5 separate regions of the Homo sapiens genome follow, and all the other regions are linked to region 2. Evidence: promoter capture Hi-C in human tissues and cell types (Jung and others, 2019). All regions are on one chromosome and are shown on one strand. The core of a region is centred on a gene start or on the middle of the fragment in contact, and the rest is flanking DNA. Distances in the headings are between cores, read along the strand shown. Region 1 overlaps SLC19A1 (solute carrier family 19 member 1). Region 2 holds the start of PTTG1IP (PTTG1 interacting protein). Region 3 holds the start of AIRE (autoimmune regulator). Region 4 holds the start of PCBP3 (poly(rC) binding protein 3). Region 5 holds the start of TRAPPC10 (trafficking protein particle complex subunit 10).

Region 1 (5,419 bases), core at 350-2,849, 660 kb after region 2:
AGGGCCCTGCTGGACTCTGGGCCTCCAGCAGGCCCCACCCGACTCAGGCCTGACCACCAGTAACCCCACAGCCCCACTCGTGCTGCCCCAGGTGACCTCAGCCCCTGCCAGCCACACTTGGCAGGACCAAACCCTGGGTCAGCACGTGGGGTGCTGCGCCGAGCCACGCCGCCTCCCCGGGGGCTCTCAGCCTCGTGTCTGGCACACCCAAGATGTGTGGCCCGATGTGCTCAGAGCCCGGCCACCGGCTACTGTGAACAGCTGGGCAATAGGACCCTGCAGCCAGGCCGGCATGCTGAGAAGCTTCCCAGGGGCTCAGGGGAAGGCTGCCCAGAGACCCCACCTCAGGGCACCCTGAGGTCGCACCCTGGAGCCTGCACCCTCATGGAGGCCAGGCTGACCCAAAGGCTGTGGTCCCAGCAGCACCAGGCACCCAAGGTCCCTCCGGCACTCCGTCCTGCTCAGGACATTCCGGGACACTCTGAGGGCAGGTTATGTGCCAGGAGGCTGAGTGAGCCCGCCGGGTCACAGAGAGCCTCAGGGCCAGCCATCGGCTTCTGCACTGTGTTTACAGCAATGTCCTGGGGACATCAAACAGCCCCTCTGTGGGCAAGCTCTCCTGGCTGATGGCCTGCTCGACTGGGGGAGGCTCCTCCTCAGGGCCAGCCCAGGGAACCCCTGCAGATTCCGAAAGAAGCGGCTCAGAGGCAGGGGTCCTCCTAGGACCTCAGGGACCCCCGACCCCCAGACACAGGAGGCTGCGTGGGGGCATGACAGCCCCAGCCCCTGGCCGGGGCACAGGTTCTGCCCACAGCCCAGAGTCAAAATGGTAGACAGCCAGCAGAGAGGCTCTCCCCAGACCCCACGGCTCTCTGGAAAAGGGCGGCCAGGGGTCCTAGAAGCCTCACCCACCTCCGAATGAATGGAGCATGCCTCATTTCCTCTTCCACCAGGAGCTGGCTCTGCAGGCTGGGGCCTCATCAGGCACCTCCTGGTCTTAGTTGAGGGTCTGAGCGCAGAGCTCCCCCTTGGCAGCCACCCAGAGCCCTCCCGCTCCTCTCCCTGCACCTCCTCAACGGCCCCTACTCCCTCTTCCTCAGCCTTGGCAGGCAGACAGCAGGGAGGCTCTGCCCAGAGCTGTGACCTGCGTCCCACTTACAAGGCTGCTGGGGGAGGGGCCCTCACAACGGTCCCAGCAGGGAGGTGGCATCTGTCAGGCGGCCACGACTCTGACACGAGGACAGCCTCCTGCTGCCTGAGCCCAGCGTCGGCCCTGCTCTCCACAGGTCTTGGTTGGGGTCCAGGCTGAATGGGCAGAGTGCAGGCAGCTGCGCCCAAATCTACGTCCAGACGGCCTCAGGGCGGCTTCTCTGAACAGGGAGGCGGGAAGGTGGGCAAGGCCCGAAGGCAGGCAGGACGCGAGGGCAGGGCCAGGCGTGGGGCAGCAGGACTGGATGCCACAGAAGGGCACCCAACAGGGGCTGGCTGGGGACGGGGCATGGGCCGCAGGTCAGGAGGGACTGCTGTGCACAGGGTCCTGGGCCGGGGGGTCTCCCTGGAGGAGGGCGGGGGCTGCAGCTCCCACCACACAGCACAGTTCCAGCGGGGGCCCAGGCAACCTCAGTGCACCCAGGAGCACCTCACGGACTCGGCCGGGGAAAGCGCTCTCAGCTGACACTCAAAGCAGAAACCCTGGAGGGAAATTTGGCCAAATTCAAAATGACTCCAGAGAAACACCGTATGTAACACACAACCAGTCCAATCCCAAGGGCACGGGGTCCCCAGGAGGCAGAAAAGGGAACCAGGTCCGAGGAGGACAGCAACCACAGGGCTGCCAGGAAACACTGGCCCACGGCGGGAGAAATGGCGGCAGAGCAAATGTGAGCAAAGGAAACCACGCTCCTCACAGCGGCCAGACGGCCGGCGCTCAGCAGCCCACCCGAGCTGGTGAGGGGAACGTGGGCAGCCCGTGGCAGGCTGCAGAGGAAGCAGCATTCGCCCCAGGAGTGAACTGGAAGTGCCAGCCCGGGCCAGCTGGGTCAAGGCCCACTGCCTGAGGCTGCCAGCTCGTGCTCTACCTGCAGCCATCACCTGCAGTGGGAGAAGCCGGAATCCCCTAATCACCTCCAGCAAAGCAGCAGATAAGCACCTTGTAGTTCAACCCAGGAGGCGCAGCTTAAGAACAGCCTCGAACCCACGTGGAACGTCTCTCAAGTCAGATTGGGCAGGAGAGCAACTTGCGAAAGCTGGGTCACAAGACACCACTTACGTGAACTTCCTAGACACAAGCCTGGCAACAACAGGGGCTGGCGAGTCCTGGCAGGCTGGGCCTCCCTTGCCCCCGAAGCTGCTCCCCGCCCACCTACTGGTGGCTGCCCCTGCACCCCGGCGCCCACGTGCCTGCTCCCGCGTGAAGTTCTTGTCGGGCCCCAGGAGGGAGGGCGTGATGAAGCTCTCCCCGGGCCTCTCCTGCAGCCAGAGGGGCTGAGATCGGGGGCCCCACCAAGTGGCAGGTGCGCAGAGCACCTGCACCCATCGTCCCTCTGATGATATCCAAGGCCTGGTGGAATGGCTTAATTTCTGGAATCTACTTTTTAATCCGTTAATGTACAACATGAGAGGGCAGGCAGATGGGATTTAAACATTTTTGCTCTAGAGACTTTTCTTATTTTGTTATTTTAAGGGAAACGCCACACATAATGCTCACCCCTATAAATAACCTTGGCGGTGGACAGTGGCCCTCCACTAAGAGCAGAGATGCCATCTGGTCAGTGGGTGGCAGGGAGAGGGACGGACTGGCCAGGAGCAGAAGGCATTTCATGAGGGGTCAAGGAGATGGCTCCGCCGCTCCAGCCCCAGCCCCGCCACCGACAGCCGGAGCCAGGGCAAGACCCTGTCCTCGCCTAGAAAGTGACCCAGCCTGGCGGTTAGCAGTGCTGGCCGTGGGACGAGACACAATCACACCGCACGGTGCTCTGAGCTGGGCACGCGGGAAGGGCAGCACCTCCACTGTCCCAATAGCACACTCCTCAGCTGCACATCAGTTTCACAATTCTAGGGTCTGGGAGGGTTGGGGTCCGGCTTCCGGCCAGGAGACACAGGGAACAAGAGGCATGCCGAGCGTCAGCCATGTGGGAGCAGAGGACGGGGTCAGCGGCTGGGATGGGCAGGTGAGCAGGCCCAGGGCCCTGGGATGGGGTGTCGGGGTGACCAGCTGGGCCGGCAGCCTGTGAGAGCGCTTTTCCAGGCTCTTCCTGTGCAGATGTGCCTTATGGACAAGGACCCCACAGCTCCAGGAGGAAACTGCTTCGGATACGGCCGCTCCCGCCTCCACCGCTCATGTGACCTGAGAGACCCGTGACTGGGCATAAGCCTATTAGAACAGTTTCAATAAGACCCTTTGTCCTCATGGCTGAGTAAAATGAAAATTCCTTCAATAATCTCTTTAGGTAAATAGCCACTAAGTCTCTGTGGAAGGCAGGTGCCCAGCAGGGTTGGACGTGGGCTTCCTCACCAGGAGGGCCGATGAGCACGGCCTGGCGGGTGGGGTGGGGCAGGCTCTCTCTCTGCAGGACACAATATCACTTTTTATCTAGCCTGGTTACTAGGCCGAAGCCAGGCCCCTCCATCTGATGGTGCCCGCTGCTGGGAGTGTGAGACCCCAGCCGGGTTCCCTCCAGGACCATATTATCAGCTGACACGGCCACTCACCCGCTCCAGCCTCAAGTGCTCACACATCCAACAGGAAAAGCGCCCTGGCCCCTGAAGCTGCTCCCCGCCCACCCATAGGCGGCCGCCCTGGCACCCAGCACCCACGTGCCTATTCCAGAAGCTGCTCCCCGCCCACCCACAGGCGGCCGCCCAGCACCCCGGTGCCCACATGCCTATTCCAGAAGCTGCTCCCCGCCCACCCACAGGCGGCCGCCCGGCACCCCGGCACCCACGTGCCTATTCCAGAAGCTGCTCCCCGCCCACCCACAGGCAGCCGCCCTGGCACCCAGCGCCCACGTGCCTATTCCAGAAGCTGCTCCCTGCCCACCCACTGGCGGCCGCCCCCGCATCCCGGCGCCCACGTGCCTATTCCAGACGCTGCTCCCCGCCCACCCACCCACAGGCGGCCGCCCGGCACCCCGGCACCCACATGCCTGCTCCCGCGTGAAGTTCTTGTCGGGCCCCAGGAGGTAGGGGGTGATGAAGCTCTCCCCTGGCCGTATCTGCGCCATGAAGCCGTAGAAGCAAAGGTAGCACACGAGGTGCCGCCAGGACCGGAGCTCGGGGTCAGGCCCAGGTTCCACGGGCACCTGCTTCTCCACCGCTGGGCTGGAGGGCACCATCCTGCTCAGGCCACGTGCAGCTCCGGAGGGGACGAAGGTGACGCTGTGCCTGGAAGGAGGGGTGGAGTCAGGGCACCTTGGAAGATGGTCTGCAGGCCTCCCTACCCCGCAAAACGAGGCCCAGTGCCGGCCTCCTCGCCACTCAGGACCAAACGCCACCCTGGAGACGAATGCAGACCCCAGACCCATCCTCACCCCGTAGCACCAAACTGGGAGCCACCCACACCTGAGCTGCTCCGGAGTCCCCCAGGCCAGGCTGTCACCACCTCCAGGGTCTCCGAGGCTGAGGGAAGTCTCCAGCCACATGGAGTGATTTAAGTGCCAATCAAAACCAAGTTAATTAACTAATTGACTTACTTTATTAACTAAACTAACAAAATTTAGGGTTTGGGGCCACACTAGACTCATGGCACTGCTGGGCAGTACCTGTGGCGGTCAGGGGGCACACCTCACCCCACAGGCCTGAGGGCAGCCCACGTGCCTGCTGCTGCTCTAGCGGCACCCAGGTGGCCCAGGGAGGGCACAGGCAGGAACGGACGCTGCTGGAGGCCGGGGTCACACCACAGGTGGCCAGCGGCGGGTGGCTGCAGGTACCAGCCTCAGGTCCCCATCAGCCGCGTGCCCTGGCAGGAGGGCGTGCAGGCCAAGCCCACAGTGAGGGAAGGGCAGAGGGAAAAGCAGGTGTCCTTGAGGGGGCTGAGAGCAGCCAGGGTTGAAACACGCGTGGGAGGGAGGATGGGATGGAGCCGAGGCCCAGCCCCTGAGCCCAGGGACCCCAGCATCCCCGGCGGCAGGTTACCCTAGACGAAAGCAGCTGGCAGGAGCCATGAGTGGACCTGACACGTTCCAGATGGAGCACCCCAGACCACAGGACTTCATCCACGAGGCAACATGCACCCAACCTTGGGGACCATCCCGCCAGCACCCCCGCCCCACACGGCCAGGGCACGTGGTGGAGCAGCAGCAGCACGAAGCACACTCGAGGGCGTGTCTCTTTCAGTCCTGATTCTGCCCAGGAGAAAGGCTCCTCCGGTGCGGGCAAGGGCACGTCTCACCACCACAAATCGTGCCTTTCAGCTGCGGGG
Region 2 (6,138 bases), core at 822-3,321:
TTTTAAACATCAGTACTGCGGTCACATTCCTGTAACCATGACAAGCAGTAAAAATCTCACACCAAGCAAGTACTCTGTGGGAAGAGGGGAGTTCTCCAGGCTATAAATAGCCCCTCTCTCCAAGGACAAGGGGCACGCAGACACCAAAGGCGCCTGGGCAGTGAATGCCAACATGACACGGCACCATTCTTCCTATTCCAAGGGGTCCCCAGTGAGAGAAACAACAGTCCACCCACCAGGACTTGGTGATTACCATAAGTGGAAGCAAGCAAGTGCAGCCTCCAAGTGCAGACACACCGAATGGCTTTTCAGCTGACACACCGAATGGCAGTTCCGGATTAATTCCCACACTGTCCACTCCACTCGTCCACACCCATCTCTGCACCCTTCAGCAGTGCAGAGCAGGAGGAATCACAGTCAAACAAAACCTCATGGTTGTTTTCCTGACACTCCCGCTTTCACAATGCAAGCAAACACACCCCCGAGCCACTGATACAGTTGCCAGTGAATCACACACTCTGCCTGCAGACGCCCATTCTGTTTGTGGAAACGTATTCACTGCACATTTGCGCTTAGAACTCAATCTGGGCCAAAAGTTCCCAGTACAGTCCCACTGGCCTCCTTGACTAACAAACTTCAAGGCAGCTGCATTGCTAACGTCACAAACCCTAAGCACACTTGGAGGCAGGTAAGAAGAAACACAAATAATCCTGCATCGGAATAAACATTCCATAAGGTCACAAAAAGAAAAGGTGCTCTACTATGCTAAACAGACACTGACAGAGCCTGGGCTAACAAGAGCTGAGAAAAGTATTAGCCCCTCAAGCTGGGCCCAGGTCAACCCTAATTGTAAGGGTCAGGAAACTGAAGTTAAGGTGGCACTATTCCCCACCACTAGTGGTCACCTGGAAACTCCACACACGGAAGCCAGCATGACATTGTGAAACAGGTCCAACCATGACACTCTCCAGCTTAGAACCTGCTGGATTTTCCCGCAGCCCACCAGGCCCTGGAGGCCCAGCCCCACAGGAAGCCACCCTCTATAAACACTGCCGGTTTCTGGAACTCTGAGTCTCCTGTCATGCACTTTCCTCCCCCAGCCCCCGCGCCCTCACTGCTTCTTTCTTGGTCAGCCTCCCGGGGACTCAGCTCCTCTTGGATAGGAGCTCTGGCTGTCGGTCACCACTGTGGCCGCAGGGCCTGGTGCAGACGGGATAAACGATGAAGAATGCCACCTGCGCGTCTGGACAGCGTAGAACCGCAATCAGCTTGCTTCAAAATCAGATGCTACAGCCTGGCTTTGGGGACGCCTTCCTTTCTAAGGCATAAGTGCGAGCGTTCGCTGCTGTGCGTGGAACTGCGGCCGGGAGGGAGTGGCGGCGTGAACGCCGGCGGCTGTAGAGACACACCGGCCGCGGCCCCATCACCCTGCAGGGGCCTGCGGCCGCCATCCCGGCCTGCCCCCGACCAGCTGTGCGACCTCGAACACGTCGTGAGCCGGCTTCCCGGCTCGGGATCGAACCCGAGGAGTGCTGTTTGGGGTCGCAGTGAGGCTAAGGGAGGCCGCAGGTGCCAAGCGTCCCGCCTGCCGGGCGAGGGCCAACCCGAGGCCACGCGCGAGGAGCGGCCGCAGCGACTGGACAAAACAAAGACAAAGACAAAGACGGCTCTTCCCCTGCCCGCGCCCCAGCCGCGACGGCAGCTCCCGCGGCCGCCAAACGGGCGTGACCCTCGAGGAGCCTCCGTCGGGGCGCTGCCTGCGACCGTGGGCCCAGGCCGCCCGCCGAGCCCAGCGCCCTGGCCGAAACCCCGACCCCGACCCCGACCTGGACCCACCAGCCGCCCCGCCCCCTTCGCGGCCCCGCCCGCCCCGGCGCCCTCACCAGCTCCGGGAGGCTCCTGCGCGGCGGCCACCGGGATGAGCAGCAGGAGCAGCGCGGCGCCACCGAGGCGCAACCTCCAGTACGGCGTCGGCCCGCGGGCCACTCCGGGCGCCATGGTCGGCCGGTCGCTCTATCAGTCAGTGGAGCGTTACAACTCCGACTCCAGCACAAGCGGTCTCCGCCCGGAACAGCCGCGGCGCCGGAAGTGGACCTGCGAGGTGGGGCCATGCGAGTGCGCAGCCTCAAAAAGCAGCTCGCCCCGCTCCCTCGCCATCTGCCCCGCCCCTCGCCAACGGGCTCGCCTCCCGGCGCGGCTGAGGTTCAGTGCGCCTGCGCGATAGAGGAAAGGAGCCTGGTAGCGAGGAGAGCGGCTGAGGCTCAGTGCGCCTGCGCGGCGCGGATGGGCGAGGCGTGACCGAGGGGCGAGGCGTGACCGAGGGGCGAGGCGTGACCGAGGGGCGAGGCGTGACCGAGGGGCGAGGCGTGACCGAGGGGCGAGGCGTGACCGAGGGGCTCGCCGCGGCTCCTGCGCCTGCGCGGCGGGGAACGGCGACCGGCTGAGGGGACTAGGGGAGCGCGGTGCTTCGGTGGCGGAGGTCACGGTGGCCTCCATCCTAAAGGGCTGCGGGCGTCCCGGACGGCGGTCCCAAGCGCTGCTCACGCTGCTCTTAAGTGAGCCCTGGACGAGGCGCGGTGGGCCCTCATAGTCCGCGCCGGCGCCCTCGCTCCACACCGCGGCGTCCGGCCCTGGGCTCCCGCCGATGTCCGCGTGGGACTTTTAGGGGATTTGTTTATTTTTGTACGTTAACCACACTAGAAACGGCCCCAGAATGGGCTGAAACGTGTGCTGCTGAAGCTGCCACCTAAACTCCCGAGAGAAGCGCCGTTTCTCCTCCATGGCTTCTCGCCGACGCCCTCGCTGCGGCCTTCCGGGCCCCTCGGTTGATAAAAGGACTAAATAGTGACGGACATTTTTAAGGCTACTTAAGAAATGGCAAAAATACATTTAGAGGTGTGAACCCGAACACACTGCGCGCTTTAAGCCCCGCGAGAGCCGGGGCCGCCCGCTTCTGTGCGCCCGTAGCTCCTTTCTCGGGTCCGGGATTCGCCGGTGCCGGGGACAGAAACCTCCTGCCTTCTTAGTTCATGACCCTTGTAGATGAACTTCCCTGTTTTCTGCACTGCTTAGACCAGAAGACGGGAAACCGTGACTGCCGCACCCTTCCCTGAAGCAGGCACTGCCCGTCGTCCATCAAACGCGAGGACTGCGCCCACCTCGTAGGAAGGACGCCGCGGTCCTGCTAAAAGCCTCCGCCTCTGCCTGCCCGAGGGCACCCTTCCCCTCCCCGCTTCCGAGGGCGGACTCCATTCCTCTGGAGCCGGTGTTTCCGGGTGGGCCAGCCTCCAACTGCCTTTGAATAACCCCCCCTTACATTAGATTCTGACCCTGTGGTGATTTTAGGTTGGGATTTGGGCGCCTGCAGATGGCTCCGAAGCCAGCCTCTTGTGATCCGAGCCACTTCTCTGGCACTCGGAGCGCTGGCACCCGCGGAGCGGCCTTGGTTCACCGGACCGCCTGGGAACCTGGCCGGGGTCTCTGGCAGCCTCCCAGGGCTGAGGTTCAGACTCTGTTCCGCCTACCCAGGTCCACACCTGATAGGGCTGGAGTTGAGGCTTGGTTTTAAGGCAAGAGTTTCGTTTGTTATTTCTCCAAAGAGTCAGCTGTTTGCAGGTGTGTGGTTAACACTATCCTTCGAGGTTAAGGTTTTGTTCGTCTTGCTAAAGTTTGCAACCTTTTTTGTCCTTCAGATTTGGAGAAGGGGAAAGCAGTTTCTCTTTGAAAAGAAGCAGCGAATCGTGGCTTAAGCAAAATTTGTAATCCTTAAAACTGGCCAGGCTCTGGAGCTGAGTTCAATTTGACATGTCTAAACTTTCTTCTTGAGTAACCAGATTTTCCCTTACAGTCTTTTGTCACTTAAGAGAACTCATAGGCAATCGTCCATCCAAAACAAGTCTTTCTCCTTCAGGGAGGACCCATCTTTGGAAACTCCAGCTGGTTTCCTGTGCAGTGCTTATGGTGCCACCTCTCGTTATATTTAGAAAAATGGTCTCACGTAACTTGAGAAAAAACATTTCAGTGACCAAAGCCGGGTACCATTGGAACACCAAGGTAATTTACTTGTTTGCTCAATTGGAAAACGCTGGCTCTAGGATAAAACGGAATCTTTGGGAGAGTTATTTTTTATGGTAGTTGGAAGCATCCAAAAGAAGTTCTAATAAAGGTATTTATGAGAGAAAAACAAAAATTATCTAAAATAATTTCTGAATTTAAAAAAGACTACTGAAATTTCTCCCCCTCCTCCCTCAGCTCCTTCTCTTTATCCTTTGTTGTCTGAATTACCTCGCCCAGACCCACCTTTCTTCCTCCTCCTCCTCCTGTTTTGGGGCCATTGCTCAAACAGCCAGTGTCTCTCATAGGGGACAACTATGTGCCCTAGTTCATGAGTTATGGTCAAAGGTAGAACTTAAAAGTATAATCAAGGAATTTCCTGATGCTCACCAGGACCCCACTGGTTTTCCCAGAGAATTTAAATACCCGAGTGTGTGACCCTGCCTCTACTTTGGGAAAAATAATTTTTTTTTTTTTGAGACGGAGTCTCGCTCTGTTGCGCAGGCTGGAGTGCAATGGCTCAATCTTGGCTCACTGCAACCTCCGCCTCCCAGGTTCAAGCGACTCCTCTGCCTCAGCCTCCCGAGCAGCTGAGACCACAGGCACGCACCACCACGCCCGGCTAATTTTTGTATTTTTAGTAGAAATGGGGTTTCACCATATTGGCCAGGTTGGTCTTGAACTCCTGACCTTGTGATCCACCTGCCTCAGCCTCCCAAAGTGCTGGGATTACAGGCGTGAGCCACCACGCCTGGCCATAAAAATTATTTAAAATAGTTAACACGAGTTCCCATTGCTGACATAAGCTTTTGCTGATAGAGCAGCCGTGTTTTCTGTAATAAATCCCATCTTGTTACAAGGTTCCATTCCTTGGAGTCAAAAAAAAGTTCAAAGGGTAGGTGTCACTAATACGCCTGTAACGGCACGTAAATCTCAGCCTATAGCTTTTCAACTAGGTCCTTTACAAGGGACTCACATTTTCCTTCTGGTTCTATCAGCTGCCAGCCATCTTATAAAAGGAGACTTCTTAGAATTACAATATCCACGTTTCTTTCTCCCAAAGGGGGAAGACGTATTTAGAATTAGATGAGAAAGCTGAGTTACTAGACATAAAAAAAGTTTCAAAATCTAACCCAATTGCGATCCCTAATTGCCCTAGAAGACACTGAATTATTGAATAATGAAGAATTACAAAACCTACTAAAGGCAGTACTTGATCAAATATGGTCAGAGTCTTCCACTGATACTGGAAGAATCCTCTTGGCTACCCCGATCAAAGTCCTTTAGTGTAGTGGACTTATTAGCACATCCTTCAGTAGTTCTGTGTGTGAAAGTGTTGATTTCTCTTTACCTTTACTTGGGAAGGCAGACAATACACACAGACAGCCATGCTCAGGGCTACACTGAGAGTCCAACTGATGCAAAGACAGTTGTCTTACATACTGACTTGTTCTTTTTTTTTTTTTTTTGACGGAGTTTCGCTCTTGTTGTCCAGGCTGGAGTGCAATGGCGCTACCTCGGCTCACTGCAACCTCTGCCTCCCGGGTTCAAGCAATTCTCCCACCTCAGTCTCCCGAGTAGCTGAGATTACAGGCATGCGCCACCATGCCTGGCTAATTTCGTATTTTTAGTAGAGATGGAGTTTCTCCATGTTGGTCAGGCTGGTCTCAAACTCTGAACCCCAGGTGATCCGCCCACTGCAACCTCCCAGAGTGTTGGAATTACAGGCGCGAGGCACTGGGCCCAGTCTTTTGACTTGTTCTTAAAAAAAATTTTTTATTACAATACATGGGCAGTTTACTCCTTTGCTCAGAAGATAAGCAAAGCTTTTATAGAAGATGGGATACATTCATTACAACAGCCCTAAAGGGACATAAAATTCCTAAAGAAAAACCTCAATTTTATAAAAAACAAAGTACTTGGGCCACTTAATATCTAAAGAAAGACTTTCTACTAATCTAGATAGACTGAAAGGAATTTTAGCTTTCCACCACCAACAACCAAGAAACAAAAGGATGTGGAGGACTGGCAGGATATTATAGAAATTGGATCCCAAACTTTTCTTTAAAGCTCAGTCCTTATACG
Region 3 (5,310 bases), core at 2,550-5,049, 590 kb before region 2:
ACCTCTGTTCTTCCGTGCATCAAGGTCCGAGTCGTGGTTCTGCCCCTTAGCAGCTGCGTGACTCTGGCCAAGCTCCTCCCGGCAACAGGCCTCAGTTTCCATATCTGTGGATGGCACTAATCACGATGATGACCTGAGGAGACCGTTCTGCTGATGGAGTGAGCAGAATCACAAAGCTCTCAGGGCCTAGCCCGGGGCATGGCAGGTCCGCAGGCGTCCAAGGGCACAGCACAGATGTGGGAGAAAGGGCTGCGGGGCCCTCCCGCTCCAGCCGAGGACACGGGGCTCAGGGATGGAGCCCAATACTGTCCCAGAGCTCTGCTGCCCAGGTGCCTCTTGGGGAAACTGAGGCTCAGTCCCACAAAGGCATCAGTCCCACTGAAGACAGGGCCGAGTCCCCAGCCCCTCACCCCCCTCCAGGGGTCTGTGCCACCTCCAGGGAGCCGTGGCGGCTCCATGTCACCTGCGGGCAAGGGGCTGGTGTGGAAAGCCCCACGGCATGGTGGAAAGTCCGAAATTCTACAGGGGCCTCTTTGTTAAACCTCCATGCAAGAGGCTGGGTGACGCCTGCCCACAGGGGTCAGGCCCCAGCCCAATGACACAGGTGACCCGCAAAGACTGCAGGTCTTTTTTAAAAAGTGAAGTGCAGACTTGGATCTCGCTTTGCAGTTTTTAATTCCCCTTTAACCATCTCTGGGCTAAGGCATCCATTGACTCACTTAACCATCTGGGGAGGGAAAAGCCACCGGGTTGCAGGGGGTGACTTTGGGGCAGGATGGCCTCTGAAGGGGTGGGTTGCCCCTCCACACCTGTGGGTGTTTCTCGTTAGGTAGAACGAGAGACTTGGAAAAGAGACACAGACAAAGTATAGAGAAAGAAATTGGGGGACCAGGGGACCGGCGCTCAGCATACGGAGGACCCCCGCTGGCCTCTGAGTTCCCTTAGTATTTATTGATCATTTTTGGGTGTTTCTCGGAGAGGGGGATGTGGCAGGATCATAGGATAATAGTGGAGAGAAGGTCAGCAGGTAAGCACGTGAACAAAGGTCTCTGCATCATAAACAAGGTAAAGAATTAAGTGCTGTGCTTTAGATATGTATACACATAAACATCTCAATGCCTTAAGGAGCAGTATTGCTGCCTGCTTGTCCCACCTCCAGCCCTAAGGCAGTTTCCCCCTATCTCAGTAGATGGAATATACAATCGGGTTTTATACCGAGACATTCCATTGCCCAGGGACGGGCAGGAGACAGATGCCTTCCTCTTGTCTCAACTGCAACGAGGCGTTCCTTCCACTTTTACTAATCCTCCTCAGCACAGACCCTTTACGGTGTCGGGCTGGGGGACGGTCAGGTCTTTCCCTTCCCAGGAGGCCATATCTCAGGCTATCACATGGGGAGAAACCTTGGACAATACCTGGCTTTCCTAGGCAGGGGTCCCTGCGGCCTTCCGCAGTGTTTTGTGTCCCTGGGTACTTAAGATTAGGGAGTGGTGATGACTCTTAACGAGCATGCTGCCTTCAAGCATTTGTTTAATAAAGCACACCCTGCACAGCCCTTAATCCATTTAACCCTGAGTTGACACAGCACATGTCTCAGGGAGCACAGGGTTGGGGGTAGGGTTACAGATTAAAATGGAGTCTCTTATGTCTACTTTCTATGCAGACACATTAACAATCTGATCTCTCTTTCTTTTCCCCACAGCCTCAAAGGAGAGGAAAGCCAAGTTGCTGGGAGCAACGGTTACTGGTCATCCCAAAGCTGTGTGCGCTGGTTCCCTGGCACCCCAGGGGCTTTTATGCATGAACTGTGCAGCCAGTGGGCCCAAGGGTTGCCATTGAACTTGATGTTAGTGAGCTCTCCCTTCGTGAGACCCCTGCCCATGGATGAGCAAGGAGAATGGGGGTGTTTCAGGAGCAGACAGGGATCCTGTGCAAAGCTGGGCTTCTGTGCAACTTTCGCTTGCAGTTATTTAAATATTTTTGCTGTAAATACAGAACTGCAGGGGAGAGGGCAGGAAACCCAGCGAGCAGCAGCCCGGCCTGGCTGGGGACAGGATGTGTCTGTTGGAGCGGGGACCGGCAAGGCAGGCATGCAGGCAGGGGGCTTCCCTCTCGGGGTCTTCGGAAGGCGCAGTGCAGGGAGTGAGAGACGCCCAGGCCTGGGCAGCGAGAGGGCCCTGCTCCCCGCTCAAGGCTCCCAGGACATTCCACACAGGAGCCAGCCTGTTCCAACCCTGCACTGCCTGATACTCCACAGCCACCACTGAGATGGACCCCCTCCCCCTCAGCTCCCCATGACGTCCCCAGCACCTGACCCCAGGCTGACCACCTCGGCCACCACCTCTGGCCCCACCTTCCTCCCCAGGTTTGTTCCCAAACACCCCTAGAGTCTTTTCCGGAGCAATCTCAGACGTGCAGAACGCTCAGGGGGACCCTGGGCCTGAAGGCGGTAGGAGAAACCGAGACCGACCCCTGGTCTAGAGGAGAGGTGTCTGCCGCTCTCCATCCTGGACTCTGGCTGCCCAAAAGCAAACGGCACGCCTGCCCACGTGGGAATCTTGGTGGCGTCTCTCACTGCATCAGTTAGCCCCCAGCCCAGTGCTGCCTGGATTCAGGCTTCCTGGTACCTTCGTCCACCCTTCAGCCCTAATCCATGCTGGCCAGGTCATCTCGTTCTCTGGCTCAGTGGGAACACTCGTGCCCAGAGACCTCTCGTGGTTCTCTGCAGCCTGCACACAGGGCCTGCTTCCCTGGCTTGACCGCACAGACAAGGGGACTGTTACCAAGGCCTCCCACTGAGGCCACCCCCCCTCCAGGCCATGCCTGCGGGGCCACCACAGCCTCAGCATCATTGCAGGCCCCAGGCCTCTGCACCTGGTCTTGTTTTACTGGGGGCACTGTCCCCACTCACGTCCACCTGGGACCCTCGGCTCCTGTCCACTGCAGCTCCCCTCCCGGACACCTTCCCAGATGCCCCCGGAAGCTCCTGTCCAGGCCACAGCATCCCTCAGCCTCTGTCACTGGTCCTAGGAAGACCCTTTGGGAGCTCTCACTCAGGGCCACACTCAGGACCCCCGTTGTGGGGCTGGCCGCCTTCCTTCTAAAGCACCTGGAGGAAGGAAGGAGGGGGTCAATGCGAGCCTCAATCCCCAGGCGAGTGTGCCCCTTTTAAAGATGAGGGAACCGAGGCTCAGAGAAGGAAAGGACTTGCCTGGCGTCACACAGCTAGCCTAAGATGGTGAGGTCAGGAGCTCCCTGGCAACACCCAGGCTGCCGTACCGTCTCCTGCATCAGACTGAGCCTCCATCGGGCTCCTCCCACAGCCCCAGGCGGGCCCCTGAGTAGGGGCTCTCAGCTTGTGTGGAGGTCCCCCAGGAACACCACCCCGATCCAGCCTCCATGGAGGCTCTTGCCGGCCACTGGGAGGGGCCGGTGCACCCTGGGCAGCCCCTGCCAGGGCCCTGAGACCCGAGCCTCCCCGCCGAGGGCACCTGTCTCGGCTTTGCCCCATTCGAGCAGGGCCCTCGCCGAGGCAGGACAGGGCCACATTCGGAAGTGAGAGTTCTCTGAGTCCCGCACAGAGCGAGTCTCTGTCCCCAGCCCCCAAGGCAGCTGCCCTGGTGGGTGAGTCAGGCCAGGCCCGGAGACTTCCCGAGAGCGAGGGAGGGACAGCAGCGCCTCCATCACAGGGAAGTGTCCCTGCGGGAGGCCCTGGCCCTGATTGGGCGCCGGGGCGGAGCGGCCTTTGCTCTTTGCGTGGTCGCGGGGGTATAACAGCGGCGCGCGTGGCTCGCAGACCGGGGAGACGGGCGGGCGCACAGCCGGCGCGGAGGCCCCACAGCCCCGCCGGGACCCGAGGCCAAGCGAGGGGCTGCCAGTGTCCCGGGACCCACCGCGTCCGCCCCAGCCCCGGGTCCCCGCGCCCACCCCATGGCGACGGACGCGGCGCTACGCCGGCTTCTGAGGCTGCACCGCACGGAGATCGCGGTGGCCGTGGACAGCGCCTTCCCACTGCTGCACGCGCTGGCTGACCACGACGTGGTCCCCGAGGACAAGTTTCAGGTGGGCTCCCCGCCCGCCCCCCGCTGCCCCCAGGCCCTGTGAGCCAGGGATAGTCCCCGGGGAAGTTCCAGGAGGACCCCGCCCCTCCAGATCCCCAAGCCCCTCCAGCCTTCCCCAACTCCCTCCCCACAAGGAGCCAGGGGCGTCCCTGATGACAAGTTAGAAGTTGGTCCCCTTCCCCCAGCCGTCCCCACACCTCACCCCCAAGCCAAGGGAATGGCCTCCAGGTTCCCCCAGCCCCACCCTCAACACCCCTACACCACCACCTGACTCCACCACAAGCCGAGGAGATGGGCGTGGAGCTGTCCAGGTCGCCAGCGCCTCTGCCTGGGAGCTCCACCCTCTAGTCATGATGGAGATGGGCAGGCCGCAGGGTGTGGGGGACCATGGCAGGGACCCTCATGCCACCCCACTGCAGGAGACGCTTCATCTGAAGGAAAAGGAGGGCTGCCCCCAGGCCTTCCACGCCCTCCTGTCCTGGCTGCTGACCCAGGACTCCACAGCCATCCTGGACTTCTGGAGGGTGCTGTTCAAGGACTACAACCTGGAGCGCTATGGCCGGCTGCAGCCCATCCTGGACAGCTTCCCCAAAGGTGGGTCCTGGTGGACTCAGCCATGCTGGGGGCCTGGGGCAGCTGCTGTCACCTGCTCAGCCCAGCTGGACTGGAACCGGAGTGGTGTTTGAGGAGCCCGTGGGTGATGTTCCAGGACCGTCTTGGATCCTAAGAGGCAAAGGGGCCAGGCCTCACCTGTCTGGCCAAGGTGTCCAGTTCTGGGGCCCACCCTACCCCTGGAGAAAACCCTGAGGTTGGGACCCTGCTCCTGCCCCTGAGCTGCAGATGTGGACCTCAGCCAGCCCCGGAAGGGGAGGAAGCCCCCGGCCGTCCCCAAGGCTTTGGTACCGCCACCCAGACTCCCCACCAAGAGGAAGGCCTCAGAAGAGGCTCGAGCTGCCGCGCCAGCAGCCCTGACTCCAAGGGGCACCGCCAGCCCAGGTACCCTCCCTGCAGGGGAAGCCAGCCAGGGTCTCCAGTCTTCCCGGGCTTCCCCGGGAGCCCACGCCCCCTCCCCACCCGGGCTCCCACCCACTGGGTGTGGGGCCAGCCTGCCTGGGGCTGTGGGGGTCTCCTCTGGGTACTAGACCCACACACTGGACCAGCCTCTCAGCTCCCTCCTGCCTGAAGGCTGAGCTCCCCGGAGCTGGTGAAGTAGGCGGGCGGGTCTCATTTCCCTTTTACTGATGAGAAA
Region 4 (5,592 bases), core at 700-3,199, 770 kb after region 2:
GTAAGGTCCTGTCCACAGCGTCCTTCCCAGCATTCCCACCAGGCTGCAGGCCTTGGCCTCCCTCCCCTCCATTCTCATTCTCCCCGAAACCGCCAAGCGCGTCCAAAGCACGGGTTCGCCAAGCGCCCCCCCCGCCCCACTCCACATTCCCTTCCCCGCCGACTCAGCCTCCGTAGCTCGCGGACGGCCCCTCCTCACGCCAGCCCAGGCTTTTTTTTTTTTTTTTTCTTCTATTTTAAGGTTGTCTTTTAATGACACAAGCGACATTTGGAGACAAAAGGACACATCTCTTCCTGACCCACCTCCAACCCCAGCTGACGGCCGCCCTGAGCCTGGCGTAGACGGCCCGGAACGTTCCCTGCGTGGGTTCCGTCCATCCCGAACCCCTGTCCCCGCGCCGGCTCCGGGGGTGCTCGGGGGGCCGCGTGGGGTCTGTGACGTCGCCTCGAGGCTGCATCCCGGTGACCCGGCAGCCCCTGGCGCTCGCGGGAGGCGGGCGGGCGCGGACCCCAGGCTTTAGGGCGCGATTCCTGCAGCTGGCTGCCGGCCCGAGGTTCTGGGGTGTCTGAGGTCTCGGGCGGGGCGAGGACGTTTCTCCGGCTCAGCCCCCCCACCTCCTGCCCTGCCGCCCCCCACACCCAGCTCCCCACGGACGCCAAGAGGCGCCTCCCACCCCGGCGAGGACCCGCGGGGAAACGGGGCCCAGGCGCGGCGACTGCGGAGGACGCGCCTCGGCCCCAGCGCCCTGGTCCTCGGGGCGTCCGGCTGCCCTTGCCCGAGGCCGGGGCGGGCGCTCAGCGCCGCGGAAGAAACGCCCGGGCGGGGACGCACAGCGAGGCGGGCTCCGCGGGAAGTACCGGGAAAACGGCGCGGAGCGGAACAGCCCGGAGCCAGCCCAGAGAAAGGGCGGCCTCCCCCTGCAGCCCCCGGGGCCCAGCAACGCCCCGCCCCAGGCCACGGCACGCGAACGCCGGGCGGGCGGAGGGGACAGGGCGGCGGGACCAGCGCGGGGCGGGCAGCGTCTGGGCACAGGCTCACGAGCCGCTCGGGGCCCCTGCCCGCCGGGCGCTGCGGCCCCAGCCTCCGGGCCGGGGCCAGGCCCACAGAGAACGGGAAGCGGGCGCTGCAGGGGGACCTTCGGGGTTGCGGCACGGCTGGGAATTCAACGGCCATTCCCGTCCCGTCGGGCCCACCCGCCCGCCCGCCAAATCCCCGCCCACCGCGGATCCGCCCCGTCCACCAAGGTCTCGCTCACCAACGGCCCGCCCCGCCCACCACAGGCCTGGCCCGCCCACGAAGGCTCGCCCCGCCCATCCACGGCCCTGCCCACCACAGGCCCGCCCCAAGCCTGGGCCCCGCCCCAGCAAGGGCACTAATCCCCTAACCCCCGAGCCCCGCCCACTGCTCTTGCCCTTCTCCCGCCCGCCCCGACTTAGGCCTCTCCCCGGCCTGGCCTCCCGTACTCAGCCCCGCCCCTGCCCCGCCCCCACCCCACCCCAAATGTGACCTGCCCCTCCCACTGCCCGTCCCCTCCCCGCTTCACTTCATTAGGCCCCCGCCCCGATTCTTGCCCCGCCCGCTCAATGTCCCGCCTACGACCCCGCCCACTACTAGTGACCGGCCCGCCCGTTCGAGGCCCCGCCTCCTCCCCGCCCAATGCTCGGCCCCGCCCCGCGCGTCATTGGGCCAGGTCCCCGCCCCGCCCCCAGCCCCACCCCCGCCCCTTTGACTGGAGTTGGCTTTTTCCAGAGAACTTTCCGGGCTCGGATTGGCCGCGCCGGTTGATGTTCCGCCCTTTCATTGGCCCGCGGCGCCCGCTTTCGCGAGCCTGCCCTTGGGCGGGGGCGGGGCCGGCGGCGGCGCGCGGCGCTAGATTGGTTAGCGGCGCAGAGGGGCGGGCCCGCGCCGCGCGCAGCGCTCGGGCTGGAGCGCCTGAAGCCGCGACCGCCGCCTCAGCCGCCTCAGCCGCGGTCGCCGCCGCTTCGGCTGACTTAGGCTCCGCCGCCGCCTCCTCACCCGCCTCGCCCCGACCCCGCCCGGGCCTCCCGGCCTCTCCCCGCCGGCCCGCGGGCTCGCCGTCCGGCGCAGGGCAGGTGAGTGAGCGGTGGCGGGCGGGGTCGGGGTCGGGCGCCCTTGCGGGTTACGGGGACCCAGTCCCCGACGGAGGCCGAGTGACGGGGCGACCCCGGGCCGCGGCAAACTTCGCCCGAGCCGGGGCGGGCGGGGGTCCCGGGCTGGGTCGCGCCGTCCCCGACCGCCGCCGGCGCCTGCGGCGGCCCGGGGCAGCGAGGGGACTCGCGCTCCCTCAAGGTGCGGTCGCCAGGCCTGGCCCGCCCGCCTCCGCCCCCTCCCCAAATTCGGAAGTTGCGGCGGGAAGCCGAGAACGTCTCGGATGTGGGTCAGAAAACGTCTGGACTACTTGAGGCTTCAGTTTCAAAACGGCACAAATTTCATCTCTTGATTGAGAAGAGATCTGGGGAACACCCCGGAGCGGCCGCGGCGGCTGGAGGGCGGCGGGGCGGGGCGCGGGGCCTCCTCCCCCTGGACGGCCGCCGGGAGAGCGCGGCCTCACCCCTCGGTGACCCTGCGGAGAGCCGCGCGCGGGCGGTGGGGCGCGCGCAGGTCTCTCTTGTTGCTCGCTGTGTTTTATTTTAATTTTGGGGGTGGTTAGAACGTGTTTCTTATTGTCCCCACACGTGTTCTAATTGGAAGTCTTGTTTCGTGAAAGAGTTTTTTTCTTTTTTTTGCCTGGTGATGTTTTCCAATTCCCTCCGCGCCACTCTGAAGTATATTACTGGCATAAGAAATTTGAAAGTTAACCAAAAGTCGGGTCCTAAATCTCGTGGCTCGGGGTTGGTTATCTTCCACCGTCCTTCAGAGCAGCCTGGATTTGCAGGTCTTGTTAGCCCTCCATGTGAGCCAGTAGCACTCTTAGTTGTTGAGTGTTTGTAGAGTGGGATTCGCCAGAAGGAATCTTGAGCAGCAGGGCCTTGCGGAGAGGCCTTTAGAGATTAGACTGGGCAACTTATAGACTCCCCCCATTTCAAAAATATTCCTCTGGCACAGGCCCTCACATATCCCTCTGAAATTGAACTCACTTTCAGGGGCAAACTGTTGCCCTTTTTCTTTTCTTTGGACTTTCTCAGATGTGGATCCCAAAGGAGTGTGCAAGGGTGCTTCCCTATTTAAGAGAACTAACTCCCAGTCCTCCTCATATTCAAGAATAATTCATCATCTTAAAGCGTGTCAGAGATACCTATTTTGGCCCCAAAAGGAGTGTTTGTAGAACAGTGGCACTCTAAAGGGATCATTTGCAAGATCTGAAAGGACCTAATTGATCATCACACGACAGAAGCAGAAATAGTTCTGGTGTTTTCAGGCTTGGAGATCTGTCAGAAAACATGGGGCCTTAAAACTAACAAGTGCAGTGACCGACTAACTGATGTCTCACTTTCGAGCAGTATTTTTTTTTTTTGCTTGTATGTAGATGCTGTTGTTTATACAGTGCAAGTTCATTACGAATGGTTTAGAACTTACGTAGCTTCACGTATTTTCTTAGTTGATAATATTATAAGGTTTTGAAAAAGTTTTGATGATAAATGGGGTCTTTATAACTGAAAAAAATGGACTCTGTCTAGAATTCAGGGCTTTTTGGCTGGCGTTGCCCCAGGTGCTGCTGATTAGTGGTGCTTTTGGACCTCAAAACATCACTTTCCCAGATATCTTTATAATGCTCATGGTGGGGGAAAACCCACACAGCTTTGTGGTTACGTTTTTAGCTATTTATGCGAAAAAGTTCAACATATAGTTGTATTTTGCTAGCTGTTTTGAAGAAGCTATTCTTTACCCTATTGTTCTGAGGAGGCTGACAGCATGCTGCATTTATAAATTTGAAAAAGCCTCACGAGCTTCTTGAACCAATCTAGCTATTCAGATTTGGATTCTGTGTATCAGTTTTGATTATTTCAGTTCCTGTGTCAATGGCAGAATCATTTCTATTTTTACAAAAGTCTCATGGCTTTATTGTAAAGGTGAACACTGAAACAGATTTTAGTAGATGTAAGTTGTGTATCCTCTCAGTGAAGAAGGCAGTGCTTTGGGCCATAACCAAGGAAAATACTTGCTCATGTATTGGAATTGCCCCAACTTAAACATTAGAATAAATGCTGTAGATTTTGGGGCAGCTCTGATGTCTCAGCTCTCATCCCTGGTGGCAGTGACTCAGAGGCAAGGCGTCATGGGCCCGCTGTCCATGGTGCTGAATCCGTGTCACCTGTTTCTCTCTCTCTCTCTCTCTCTCTCTCTCTTTCTCTCTCTCTCTCTCTCTCTCTCTGTGTGTGTGTGTGTGTGTGTGTGTGTGTGTGTGTGTGTTTTGGGGCAGGGGGAGCTCAAACTTCCTTTCCAGTGTACTTTAAAATTAATTTCAGAATTCATATTATTAAATAAAATTTGATCAGGGAAATTATGTTGAATGGGAGCGTGTCTTGAAAACACGCCATTTTATTCTTCTTTTTAAGGAGGATAATTATGCTACAACATTCAATTTCCTTTGCTTAGTCTTCACTGTCTCTCTAGGTGGGAGTTTTGTTGCTTGAGTATGGGCATCAAGTAACAAATCACTGACATTAAATGAAACCCTGTTTTCTTAACAACCATTCCTTTAAGAAAGTACCAGTTTGTTTTAGTTTGTTTTCTTTTGCTTATAACAGAATACCTGAAACTAGGTAATTTACAAAGCAAAGGAATTTATTTCTTATAGTCATGGAGGCTGAGAAGTCTAAGGTCCGGGGGCCAAAGCCACCAGCTCCACTCCCATGACAACCCACTAATCCATTAACCCATGAATGGATTAATCCATTTTATGAGGGCAGAGCCCTCTTGATCCAATCACCTCTTAAAGGTCCCACCTCTCAATACTGCTTCTGCATTGAGGATTACATTTCAGCATGAGTTTTGGAGGGGATATTCTAATCATAGCACCTTTATTACAATATAGACATACATCTGTAGGCATATATCTATGTAGGGGCAACTTGTTCCCAAAAGGGTTGACTCTAGCATGTTTTGCATTCTCCAGCATGTTGGTTCTCAGCCTTTCCTGGCGATGGGATCTGTTTATGTGTTGGGCTACTGAGTGGTTGCCAGGCATTCCTGTTGTGTTAGAGCTATATCTACTCTCTTTTCTCTAATATTGAGGACATCTTTGTAAATCATTTTACATGAATCTTTTCTTTCTCTTGAGGTTAATGTTGTCAGTTACTTTAGAATTGCCCCACAGGTTAGCAGTAAAAAAAAAACAAAAAAGATAGATGTCACTTGTGGTACAGAGATGTCACATGGTAGTAAGTTGTATATCAAGCTAAGCAGTGGATTGTTGAGGTGCTTTTTGTTATGATCATCTGAACTGATTCTGTGGCCCCATTTGTTGTACACTTAACCCAGGTTACTCTTTGACATCTCTTTTGTTGACAGAAACTCAGGAAAACTTCCTTCTGCCTCATCCAAGCTTCAGAAATACTCCCTGATTCCCTACTGTTTGCCATTTCCTATGCTATGATCTGGGAACCCATGAGGGAATGAGACAGAGTTCTT
Region 5 (5,888 bases), core at 1,157-3,656, 860 kb before region 2:
CGTGGTGGCACTCACCTGTGGTCCCAACTACTTGGGAGGCTGAGGTGGGAGGATCACTTGAGCCCAGAAGTTCTAGGCTGCACTGAGATAACGATCAAACCACTGCACCCCAGCCTAGGTGACAGAACAAGACTGTCTGAAAAGAAAACAAAACGGAAAGTCCTTTCCTGTAGCACTACTGGACCTCTAGTCTTTGTGCCATCCTCAACTCTGTAACAGCCGCTTCCTGGTAAACCCATAGAGTCGTCCCACACGTGTAGTCCAGCCTAGGCCAAGGACTTTCAGGGAACCCTACATCGACTTCGGCTCCCCACTCTTGCTAAGCTTCTTCCCCTCCAGTGCCCTGCCTTGCCGGCCTGCTGCTTTAGCTGCCCAGAAGTCTGGTCTCTTGCCTCTCACACCATTACAGTGCACCACACTACACTATGTTCACACATTTAGCAGCTGTGTTCACACCCAAACTATCTCATATATACATTTTGTTAAAAAAAACTTCAGGACTCTCTAAACTTATGATGCCAAGGGTGAAGTTAAGCCCTGGAGACTGAGTCAGTAGCAAGTTTGCAATTCTGCTTCTTCGATTACAGTTTAATGCTCTTCCTCCTTGTTCTTGAGCACAAGTGTCTTCCTCATTGTGGCTGCTCTGTAAATCAGGGCTCCCCGACCGCCAGGGCCACAGACACATACCGGTCAGGCCACACAGCAGGAGGTGAGCTTCAGGCCAGGGAGCAAAGCTTCATCTGTATTTACAGCTGCTCCCCATCGCTGGCATTACCGCCTGAGCTCCGCCTCCTGTCAGGTCAGCAGCAGCGCTGGATTCTCCTAGGAGGGTGAACCCTGTTGTGAACTGCACATTGGAGGGGTCTAGGTTGCGTGCTCCTTATGAGAATCTCATCCCTAATGATGTGTCCCTGGCTTCCATCATCCCTAGATGTGACCGTCCAGTTGCAGGAAAACAAGCTCAGGGCTCCCACTGATTCCACATTATGGGAAGTTGTATTTTATTACATATTACAACATAAAAATAATAAAGTGCACAATAAATGAAATGTGTTTGAATCGTCCTGAAACCACCCCAACTTTGTCTGTGGAAAAACTGCATTCTATGAAACTGGTCCCTGGTGCCAAAAAGGTTGGGGACTGCTGCTGTTAATGACTAAGAAAGACCAGGTCTCCCCCTTCCCATTTGGTGATTTTTGTTACAGATTAGCTGTCTCCATTGTCCTGTACCTGACTTAGACCAGACAGCACAGAGACCCCAGGACTGTTTCATCTTCAGTGGGTCCCCAAAGAAAAAGACCACCTCGACTAAACAGACTGTTGTAACTATGCATTAGGCCTTATACAGAAAAGACGCTGAAATTCGGTTAGGCTTCCCGAGACGCTGGCTATAGAAACGACCCCAAATTTCTACGTTTGAGAACACTGACTTCCATTCTTTATAATGTTTCCTGGGCGCCTCAAGCTTCGCATTTGACTAAACTCTAGATTCTGACCCTTTTGATTATTTTTGGTTGACAGTTTTTGTCATTTTATGGCTGGGAGTGATGGCTCACACCTGTAATCTCAACACTTTGGGAGGCCAAGGCTGGAGGATCACTTGAGCCCAGGAGTTTGAAACCAGCCTGGAAAACATAGTGAGATCCCGACAAAAGAAAAGAAAAGAAAAAAATTAGCTGGGCGTGGTGGCTGCCCCCGTGGTCCCAGTTACTGGCGGAGGGGGTGGGGCGGGGGGAAACAAGGCGGGAGGATCGCTTGAGCCTGGAAGGTGGAGGCTGCAGTGAGCCGTGTCCCGCCACTGCACTCCAGCCTGAGCCAACTGAGGAAGACCCTGCTCCAAAGAAAAAAAGAAAAAGAAACACCCGCGCCCCGCCCCCCCCGTTTACGTGCACAAGAAGCCCATATGCAGTTAAGTGTGAGGTTTATTTTGTGGCATTCCGAAATGCCGAGGGCCAGGTCCCCACAAAAACATTTGCGGCGTGAGGGAAACGGGAAGAGCCCAGCGGTAGGCGGAAGGCACGCGCCGGGGACACTCAGCGGCGAGGGCCTGCGGGAGCCCCCAGCGCGATAAGGAGCCCGGCCGGGGAGCAGCGGCCCGCCGCGGGACGCCCGAGCTGCGGGGAACGCGAGGGCAGCGAGGCCGGCGTCTCTGGTCCGGGAGCGTCCAGGCTCGCTCACCGCGCGCGAGGCCCGCCTGCCGAGTCCTGGCCTCAGCTCCGGCGCAGGGCCCAGCGGGGCGCCCACTGCCGAGGGAGGAAGATGGACGTGTCCCGGGAGCCCCGCTCCGCCTCCCACTTCCCACCTCCCGGTCCCGCGCGGCCGGCCCGGGCGCACTTCCGTCGGAGGCGAAGCGCGGCGAAGACCCGCCCCGTGAAGCCTCGCGCGCCCCGGAAATGGTCATGCGGCGGCGCCGAGGCCGGAAGTGGCTGAGGCCGGCAGCAGCGGGCGGCAGCTGCGGCGCAACCGGCTCCGGAGCTGCCTGGCGCGGCCGGGCGGGCGGCGCCGCTCAGGCTCGGGCTCCGGCTGGGCCCGGCGCGGCCTCGGGGCTGCCCATGGGGCGCGGGGGGCCGGGCCGGTGACGCCGGACGCCCATGGACGCCTCTGAGGAGCCGCTGCCGCCGGTGATCTACACCATGGAGAACAAGCCCATCGTCACCTGTGAGTGCCCGGAGGCGGGGAGGGCGCGGCGGTCGTTGGGCGGGCCCGGGCCCTGGCGTTATGCACCCGGCGCCCCCAGACCTTCAGCCCCCGGCGCGCTCCGGGCTGGGCCGCTTCCTGGAGGTGTGACCAGGGCTGCGGCTGAGGCGGGGCCCTCTGACTTTTCGGGGACGCCCTCTGACCTTCCCGCCGGGCGACCTCTGACCCCTGGGGGGCGCCCTCGGGCCGGCTGCAGTTGGAGCCGGTGGAACCCGGCGGACTCTGCCCGGGACTGGGCGCGCGCCGGCGTCGAGGGCGAGGAGCGGGGGCTGCCACCGCCCCGTCCCGCCCCCGTTGAGCCGCGCGCCCGGGACCTGGGGGCCCCGGCCTCTTCCGCCGGGCGGTTTTGCCCGCGGGCGCCCTTTCCCCGACTACGGGGAAGTCCTTGGGGGCTCGCAGAGTTGCAGGCGTTGGCGAAGTAGGAACAGTTTGTTGCGGGGTGAAGCGTCAGGCAGAGCCGCCGGGACTGCTTTCGCTCCTACACACTTCCCCGCCGCGCACTCAAACCATTTTACGGATGAGAAAGCCGAGGCTCGGGCGCTTAGGCGAGCTTGCTCCCCATGAACAGCCTCCCGCTCGAGTCTACACTACGGACACCTGGTGCCTCTTGGGTGTCGTGTCCTCCCCGCACCCCTCCTTTAATGCATACACAAAGGAACTGTTTTTCTGTTACGGGAAAAATGTTCCCTAAATTTTAGAAGTGTGACTCTCCAGAGTTAAATACGGTTAAGAACAGTGAGCTTATGGGAAGTATTGAAATGTTTGTTGGTTGGCTTTTAGGTGACTTGCAGAGAGGTGTTTCAGACTGTTACGATTTTTGACCTTTGACAGTATTCTGTATTTTCATGCATGTATGCAGTTAGTTTTTTTCTAGTTGTCTTTCGTGCTTGGAAAGGAAGCACTCTCTGTTGCAAAATCTGGGTGCCCAGGCCACAGTAGACTGTATGTCGTGAGAACTCCTGTTTCCCTCTCACTCTGTCAGCGGGTGTGCACCTGCTGTGTTCCTTCCTGTTAGATCCCTGAGAAACTGTATATTGAAGGTTGAATTTTGTTGCTTCAGCTTTAGGTGATAGACTTATTTCTTTCCTTCCTTTTGCTTTATTTTGTCTCTTCTCCTCTCCTCCTCTCTCTTTTTTTTCTACAGAGACCTAGACGAGATGATAGACTTTTCTTAGGGAAGTGGACTGTGTCTCATTTAAAATTGGAGACTTGCATAGTTCAGCAGTAGCTGTCTTTTTTCCTCCCCAGAATATTTGTCAGCTGAAAGTCTTTTCCTACTCTGCACCTTCAGCCCCAGAGGGCAGATGTGGGTAGAGCTGGTCTGCAGGCCCTGCAATTTCCCAGGGGCTTTCCCAGTGCTCAGGGAAGATGAAGCCATGCGCAGTTCATGTTAAGTTTTACTGTCTTCCAGAGGTTGAACATTTTTCTCCTAAAGTGCTGTGCACGTTGTGAATGCTGGATACACATTCATTGCCTGTACGGACATCCACACATCTAATTTTATCTTCTACCTCCTAGCTTGCTTACATTTCAATAGCAATATGTATTTATAGGCATTATGTAAATACATTTCTGAGGAGAAAGTTCCTAAGCTCTATTGGATTCAACCATAACTAAAGGGGTAAAGTTTGTTATCTGGTTGCCAGTGTTGGAGATATTTAATGTTTAGTTTTGTACATGCGTGCATCACGGACAGCTGAAGGATGCGGTTTTCTTTCCTACAGATTTATTGGATTGTCATCTTGGTGGTGGGTTTTTTCCTGTGTTTTGAGCAGCAGAGTGAATTTTTTTTTTTCCTTCTTCTTCTTTTTTGAGACGGCGTCTTTCTCTGTCGCCCAGGCTGGAGTGCAGTGGCATGATCTCGGCCATGATCTTGGCTCACTGCAACCTCTGCCTCCCGGGTTCAAGCGATTCTCCTTCCTCGGCCTCCCGAGTAGCTGGGATTACAGGCGCATGCTGCCATGCCCGGCTAATTTTTTGTTTGTTTGTTTTTGTTTTTTTTTTTTTTCAGTAGAGACAGAGTTTCACCATGTTGGTGAGGCTGGTCTCGAACTCCTGACCTTGGGTTGTCCACCTGCGCAGCCTCCCGAAGTGCTGGGATTACAGGCTTGAGCCCCCACCCTTGGCCTCAAGCAACATAGTGAATGTTAATCTCTGCATGGATGGTACACTGTCCTAGAAGGTGCAAACTTTCATTCATTGGAGTCTCAGAAGAGAAGGGGGCTTCAGTAGACTGTCAAAGTTAACTTGAAAAATGATCACTTTAAAAGTGAAGGTAAAAAGCTGACTTCATACTTCCCACTTGAAATTATGTTGTGGTATATCTGGGACTGAAGCTTTAGGAAGCACTTGGCCTGGTTTCACTTTATGCCTTCATCTTGCTCCTCTCTTTCAGCTATACATGTTTTGAAAGGAGAAGGTGGTATGAACAATTGCTTTAAAAAAATCCACCCAGAGGCTAATTAACCCTTAACTTTTTAATATTATGTACATAGTTCTCTTAGTAGGCAACATTTTTGTTTTCAAAAATCTTTTAAATTCTTACTTGAAATGGTATTACCTCAGATCTGTTCATTTTAAAATGAAAGTAGAGTTTATGCATGTTGTGAATTTTTTTTCCATAGAATGTATAATATTTTACTTCAGTGAAAATGCATTCTGCTTAGACCTTTCTGGGAAGAATATAGAATGTAACTGGTTCAGGTGAATTTAAAAACTGTGTATATGTAGGGATAGAAGAATGAAAAGTTCCCAAAGATTAAGGGTAATTAGAATAGATTATTACTTTAAAACCTAGCTGATTATTTCACTTCATTTTATTATTATTATTTTTTTAGAGATGGGGTCTCGCTCTGTCACCTAGGCTAGAGTGCAGTGGCATGGTCATAGCCGACTGCAGCCTTGCTGGGCTCAAGTGACCCCTCCCTTAGCCTGCCAAGTAGCCAGCACTACAGGTATGACCCACCTCACCTGGCCTGAATTATTTTAATAATATTTTGAAGCTCTCCAAATTTTTTTTTTTTTTTTCTGTCTGAGACAGAGTCTTGTTCTCTTGCCCAGGCTGGAGTGCAGTGGCGCGATCTCGGCTCACTGCAACTTCTGCCTCCCGGGTTCAGTCGATTCTCCTGCCTCAGCCTCCCAAGTAGCTGGGATTACAGGCGTACACCACCATGCCCACCTAATTTTTGTAT

What was found. The method cuts DNA at HindIII sites, captures the fragments that hold promoters and counts their contacts. A contact is called where the count stands out against the background at its distance.
Region 1: a contact is called between a fragment that was not itself captured here and the fragment with the promoter of PTTG1IP in region 2, in 1 of the 25 tissues and cell types used here (spleen).
Region 3: a contact is called between the fragment with the promoter of AIRE here and the fragment with the promoter of PTTG1IP in region 2, in 1 of the 25 tissues and cell types used here (dorsolateral prefrontal cortex).
Region 4: a contact is called between the fragment with the promoter of PCBP3 here and the fragment with the promoter of PTTG1IP in region 2, in 2 of the 25 tissues and cell types used here (hippocampus and spleen).
Region 5: a contact is called between the fragment with the promoter of TRAPPC10 here and the fragment with the promoter of PTTG1IP in region 2, in 1 of the 25 tissues and cell types used here (dorsolateral prefrontal cortex).

What each region holds. Positions count from the first base shown.
Region 1 is chr21:45,533,626-45,539,044 of GRCh38, forward strand. SLC19A1 (solute carrier family 19 member 1) reads right to left here. Exons shown (of 6, transcript NM_194255.4): 2 at 4,146-4,383. The coding sequence starts at 4,334. Among named protein-coding and RNA genes, the nearest start is that of SLC19A1, 6.1 kb to the right of the region's middle. RefSeq lists an enhancer at 567-1,441. The HindIII fragment of the contact is 5,189 bases long and covers 1-4,194 here.
Region 2 is chr21:44,871,619-44,877,756 of GRCh38, forward strand. PTTG1IP (PTTG1 interacting protein) reads right to left here and starts at 2,072. Exons shown (of 6, transcript NM_004339.4): 1 at 1,884-2,072. The coding sequence starts at 1,998. RefSeq lists enhancers at 1,193-1,693, 1,694-2,194, 2,352-3,029 and a silencer at 1,786-2,435. The HindIII fragment of the contact is 14,261 bases long and covers 1-5,369 here.
Region 3 is chr21:44,282,077-44,287,386 of GRCh38, forward strand. AIRE (autoimmune regulator) reads left to right here and starts at 3,800. Exons shown (of 14, transcript NM_000383.4): 1 at 3,800-4,062; 2 at 4,481-4,655; 3 at 4,902-5,057. The coding sequence starts at 3,931. RefSeq lists enhancers at 372-451, 868-1,471, 1,472-2,073, 2,074-2,677, 2,678-3,279. The HindIII fragment of the contact is 44,459 bases long and covers 1-5,310 here.
Region 4 is chr21:45,641,776-45,647,367 of GRCh38, forward strand. PCBP3 (poly(rC) binding protein 3) reads left to right here and starts at 1,950. Exons shown (of 18, transcript NM_001384156.1): 1 at 1,950-2,093. RefSeq lists silencers at 1,155-2,144, 2,465-2,604. The HindIII fragment of the contact is 13,348 bases long and covers 1-5,592 here.
Region 5 is chr21:44,009,903-44,015,790 of GRCh38, forward strand. TRAPPC10 (trafficking protein particle complex subunit 10) reads left to right here and starts at 2,407. Exons shown (of 23, transcript NM_003274.5): 1 at 2,407-2,658. The coding sequence starts at 2,592. RefSeq lists silencers at 2,032-2,411, 2,562-3,231 and enhancers at 3,782-3,841, 3,862-3,911. The HindIII fragment of the contact is 5,486 bases long and covers 1,100-5,888 here.